Regions from separate parts of the Homo sapiens genome. Here region 1 is linked to region 2. The links are contacts of gene promoters, found by promoter capture Hi-C in blood cells and fetal thymus (Javierre and others, 2016). All regions are on one chromosome and are shown on one strand. The core of a region is centred on a gene start or on the middle of the fragment in contact, and the rest is flanking DNA. Distances in the headings are between cores, read along the strand shown. Region 1 has its middle 28 kb from the start of NACA2. Region 2 holds the start of TBX2 (T-box transcription factor 2).

Region 1 (2,700 bases), core at 125-2,624, 160 kb before region 2:
TGAGACTCTGTCTCCAAAAAAACTCTCTATTCAGCATATTATATTGAGATTATGCATGTATATATAGAGGACATATCTTCATTTTTGTATCATCAGTGGAGCTGAACAGAATGCATGTATTGGTAGGTCTTTTTAAGTAAACATATATAGTTCAGTAGGTATATTTTCCTGTTTACAACTTTACTACTTTTTAGCAGAGTGCCATTGGGCAAATCTTTGAAACTGTTTTTTAAATCTTTTTTTTCTTTCTTTCTTTTTAGATGGAGTCTCACTCTGTCACCCGGGCTAGAGTGCAGTGATGCAATCTTGGCTCACTGCAACCTCTGCCTCCCGGGTTCAAGCAATTCTCCTCCTGCCTCAGCCTCCTGAGTAGCTAGGATTACAGGCACCCACCACCATGCCCAGCTAATTTTTGTATTTTAGTAGAGATGGGGTTTTACCATGTTGGCCAGGCTGGTTTTGAACTCCTGACCTCAGGTGATCCACCCGCCTTGGCCTCCCAAAGTGCTGGGATTACAGGCATGAGCCACCATGCTCGGCCTTTTTTCATCTTTAAAATAAGGTAATGGCTCATAGTACTGCTATAGCACAAGTATTCTTCTAAGTATTTTGCATGTGCACGCAACAATGCTCTGAATGTTTATAGCAGCATTATTCATAAGTGCCAAAAATTGAAAGTAAGCAAGACTTTCAAAGGGTGAATGGATAAACTGGTACATCCATACAGAGGAATATTATTCAGCAATTACTGAAAAAGAACCAGGAGATATACGTATCTTCCACTCAATCTTACGGTGAAACTAAAACTACTGTAAAAAACAAACTCTGTTAAAAAAGAAAAAAAAAGAGCTATCAAGCCACCAAAAGACTTGGAGGTATCTTAAATGCGTATTGCTAAGTGAAAAAAGCCAGCTGAATGTATGATTCAGCCAGCTGTATGATTCTAACTATATCACATCTGGGAAGGCAAAACTGTAAGATGGTAAAAAGATCATTGGTTTCGCTGGAAGGAGGAAGGGGTTCACAGATGGAACACAGAGGATGTTTAGGGCAGTTAATCTATTGTGTGTGATACTGTAATGGTAAATGCATGACACTACGCATTTGTCAAAACCCAGAGAATTGTACAACAGAAAGAGTGAGCCCTAATGCAAACTATGAATTTTGATAATAATTGGTCAATATTGATTCATCAGTTGTAACAATGTATCACACTGGGTGCAAAATGTTAATAATAGGAGAAACTTTGTGCACCTGAGGCAAGTGGTATTCGGGACTCTGCACAATTTTTCTACAAACCTAACCATGATGCTATGCTGCCTCTCAAATATTACCATACATATTGTGGCCAGGCACAGTGGCTCATGCCTGTAATCCCAGCACTTTGGGAGGCCGAGGCGGGCGGATCGTGACGTCAAGAGTTCGAGACCAGCCTGGCCAACGTGATGAAACCCTGTCTCTACTAAAAACACAAAAATTAGCCAGGCGTGGTGGTGGGCACCTGTAATCCCAGCTACTCAGGAGGCTGAGGCAGGAGAATCCCTTGAACCTGGGAGGTGGAAGTTGCAGTGAGCCGAGATTGTGCCACAGCACTCCAGCCTGGGTGACAGAGCAAGACTCCGTCTCAAAACAAACAAACAAACAAACAAACAAATATTGTCTGTGTGTCCTCACTAGAGGTGAATTTTGTCACGAAAACCTTCCCACTTACATCGCTTGTGTCTGAAACTATATTTGCCTTAATCAAAGCGGGTTTATTGGCTGGGGATGGTAGCTCACAACTGTAATCTCAGCACTTTGGGAAGCCGAGGCAGGAGGATCATTTGACCCCAGAAGTTCAAGAACAGCCTGGACAACATAGGGAGACCCCATTTTTACAAAAAGTAAATCATCAGCTGGGCATGGTGGCATGTGCCTGTGGTCCCAGCTACTCAGGAGGCTGAGGTAGAAAGGCTCACTTGAGGCTGGGAGAACGAGGCTGCAGTAACTTATCATTGCACCCCTGTACTTCAGCCTGGGCAACACTGCAAGACCTGTCTCAAAGAGAGAGAGGGAGAGAGAAACAACTCCTCCCACCGCAAAAACAAACAAACAAACAAACAAACAAGCAAACACAAAGTGGGTTTATTCCAGTTGGAACCAAAGGAAAGTGTTACAAAGCAAAATATACCTGTCATGCAAGTGAGGACGTTCAGGATTGGCACCTATAAATAACCTGGTAGCCTCCTTAATACGCATGGGTTTAACAATAGAAGCACACACATATACTGAAGGTACATGTGTACATATATGAATGCTGTAATCAGTATAAGAAACCAATGAAAAAATTGATTGTGATTTAGAAGTTGAAGCATCCAGTTTCTTATTAATTCATTACTTTTTAAATAAGAAATTCCAGAATTACATCCTCTTCTGAAGAATTACAGCATGCGAATTACAGCCAGAGATATTTTTTAAAGTCTTAAATTGGGAACCACAGCTTAGCGGAAATAGGGAGATATGAGTTCCAAACGTCCTGACTGTGGGGAGGTTAGGTGAGAAAATAGAGTGATTTCATTTTAGTGCTGGTTTGTAACATTTAATTTCCTTTTATAAAAGTAGTTTGACCTTTGTGGAACACGGGAAATGTAAAGGGACTGAAAAAAAGACCCAAGGGTTCTTTCCCACCCTTCCAGAACCGTCTTCTCCAAAGGTCCTTAG
Region 2 (2,888 bases), core at 89-2,588:
GCTGAGTCGAAGGGTGGAGGGGCCGGGGCTGTGGCTTTCTTCAGGCTTTAAGGCCTGGGGCGGCGGATGCGTCCAGGGCTCGGATGCCCGCGGTGGAGAAAGGGCTCCCAGCCCGGTGAGGCGGAGGGCTCGGCTGACCCGGGGCTCGCTGCCAGGAACCGAGCAACCAGCGTGGGGTTAGCTGGGCCCAGGTCCCACTAGGGGCTTCGGGGTCGGAGCAGAGTCTGAGAGAGGCTGAATTTCCCCCGAGCTCGGAGACGGACCCGGACGCAGAAGAGCGAGAGCGCGGGGCGGAGGAGACCGCCAGGGCCAAGCCGCGGGGCCTCCTCTGCGCTGGGACTCAGAACGGTTGGGGCTATTCTTTAGCAGTATGTTTTCGTTTTATTTCATTCGGAGGATTTTAGCGTTTTTGTTTTAAAAAAAAATCGCTCCGGTGCCAAACGAGAAAAGTCAACTTGGTTGTCCGTGGGAGCGAAGCGTGGCGTCAGGGCCAGAACCTGGAGCCGGGAGCCGGGAGCCGGGAGTCCCCAGCTCTGCTCTGATCCGTGCAGTCCCGTGCCCCAGCCCGCCCGCCCGCCCGCGCGCCTTCCAGCCGGCCGGCAGCCCTACCTCCCGGACTTGGTGATGACCATCTCCGTGCCTAGCTTGTGGAACTGGTCCCACAGCTCCTTGGCCTCCAGCGTCACCTTGGGGTCGTCCTCCACCTCGTCCTCGGGCTCCAGGCTCTTGAGGGAGCGCAGATGCGCGGCGGGCGGGTGCGGGCCCAGTGCCGAGACGTGCAGCCCCGCCTCGGCCGCTGCTGCCGCCGCCGCCGCCGCGGCCGCCGCCCCCGCCAGGCCCGGGTCGGGCAGCGGCTTGGCCAGCGCGCCGGGCGGCAGCGCGAGTGCCGGGAAGAAGGAGGGCTGCGCCGCCGCCAGAAAGGCGGACATGGGGAAGTCGGCGGGCCGTGGCGCGTGGAACGGGTGGTAAGCCATGGCGCTGGCCGCCAGCGCCGGCTCTCTCATCGGGACATCCGGCCCAGGCGCCCGGGGGCCGGGGCCGGGGCCGGGGGCGCGCGGCTCGGACCCCCGGCCCGGGCGGCGGCGCGCGCGGTGGACGGACGACCCGGGTGGCGGGCGCAGCAGCTGCTCCTCGGGGCTTCCCGTCCGGCGCACCGCAAGGGGCACCCGGCTCTGTGCGCGGGGGCGGCGGGGGCTCTGCGCGGGGCCGGGCTGGGCCGGGCTGAGCTGGCCCGCTCCGGCGCCGGGGACCACGCGCGACTGGTTAGATCTTGTCGTGATCTCTGGAAAACTGTGACTATCTCACATGTCCTGCCCAGCTCGGATCCCCTGCGCTAACGAGCCAGGCCCCCCTTGATTGCTGATTTTACGCTTTTTGGACCAATTGTGGGTCTCCGGGGGCGGGGTTTTGACAGCTCAGGCCAAGCTCCGGCCGGGAGGGGGGGCCTGGGAGAAGGTGTCGGAAGCCTCAGCAGTAAGAAAACATGTCAACAGAATAAAATATTAACCAATGACGGGCCGCCGGGCCCCGAGACCCCTCCTCCTGCCCCGGCCCCCACCGCCCGCCCGCGCCTGCGGCTGCCTGCGCCGGACTGGAGAGCGCGGAGGGCCGACCTGACCCGCCGAAAGGGCCTGAGGCGAGGGGAGCCCGGGTCCCGGGGCCTTGGGGAAGGACCCGCAGCCGCACGCCGGCCCCAAGTGCAAAGCATTGACACGACCCCGAGCGGAGAGGGGGCGCCCTCCTTCTCCCGCGCCCAGAGGCCCGGCCGCTCTGGCCCGAGCCCCAGCCTGGCCTCCGACCCAGCTCCGGGTCGTGGCGCCGCCTGGGGGTCCCTGCGCCCCGGAAAGAGACAGCAGGCACTGGAAAGCGAGGCCGGTGGGCGGGCGAGTCGGGAGGCTCGGGCGGCCGAGGTCCGGGAGCGGATCCCAGGTGGCGGGAGCTGGTGAGTGGAGCCATGGCCGAGCCCTGCTGGGGCCGGCGCGGGCGGGAGCGGGACGCGGCCTTGCGCTGGGGAAACGCGGGGACCCCCTACCCGCGCCCGCCTTCACCGGAAGACTCGGAAGGAACCTGGAGTTCTCCGCAGGCCCGGGCCCCGCCCTGAGCTTTCCAGCGGCCGGGAGGAGCGGATCCTCGGGGCCAGGAAGGTGAGCGCACCTTTCGCTGAGCACAGGGCGGCACCGCGCGGGCGGACCCCGGATTCTCCACCCGCGACCCAACGAATTTTCGCCCTATCCGGTACCGGAGACGAAAGTCTCCTTCTTCCGAAATACCGGCTTCCTCTCTTCGCCCTGCCAACCACTTTTTTAGTTTCTTCTCATCTCTCGGAAGCGCACGTCTCCTAAGTTAAGGAGTGCTGAGTAACGCGTGAGGGAGTTGGGGTGTCTGCGAGCACCTGTGATTGAAGCCCCCTCTTCTGTGATCAGTCTTCGTTTTCTGTCTTCCGGCAGCCTCAGTTTCCCCCCCATGAAGTGATGGTGTGTGTGTGTGTGTGTGTGTGTGTGTGTGTGTGTGTGTGTGTGTCGGGCCCCGTGTGGTGCCCTCTGTGCGCAGCGAGAGCTATAACTCAAGGTGTGCACGGGGAGAGTGAAGCGACCACGCACCTGCTTCCAATCGGGCTCGGGCGCGAACACTCAGGCTGATTCCTGAAGGTCGTTTTCTGAAGGAAAAGACAGAGCATGCACTAGCCACGGGTGACATTCCCACCCGTACAACCGCGTGGTGGGCGCGTACATCCAACATTGACCCATGCAGGCGCCCGCCCACTGCGCACACCGGTCGCAGGGCACTTCGTTGTTGAACGTTGGGAGCAGCGTTTGAAGGCCGGATCTCTCCTGGCAGTGCGGATTCGGGACCGGCGGAAGCAGTATGGCCTCTGCGACCGTTATCCC

What was found. The method cuts DNA at HindIII sites, captures the fragments that hold promoters and counts their contacts. A CHiCAGO score of 5 or more calls a contact.
Region 1: a contact is called between a fragment that was not itself captured here and the fragment with the promoter of TBX2 in region 2, in 1 of 17 cell types (M2 macrophages). The highest score is 5.3, in M2 macrophages.

Annotation. Positions count from the first base shown.
Region 1 is chr17:61,561,857-61,564,556 of GRCh38, reverse strand. No RefSeq gene overlaps it. Among named protein-coding and RNA genes, the nearest start is that of NACA2, 28 kb to the left of the region's middle. The HindIII fragment of the contact is 5,695 bases long and covers 1-2,700 here.
Region 2 is chr17:61,398,293-61,401,180 of GRCh38, reverse strand. It overlaps TBX2 (T-box transcription factor 2), which reads right to left and starts at 1,338. Exons shown (of 7, transcript NM_005994.4): 1 at 610-1,338. The coding sequence starts at 1,004. TBX2-AS1 (TBX2 antisense RNA 1) reads left to right here and starts at 1,575. Exons shown (of 2, transcript NR_125751.1): 1 at 1,575-1,942. RefSeq lists a cis regulatory region at 1,254-1,265 and promoters at 1,254-1,501, 1,121-2,381. The HindIII fragment of the contact is 11,976 bases long and covers 1-2,888 here.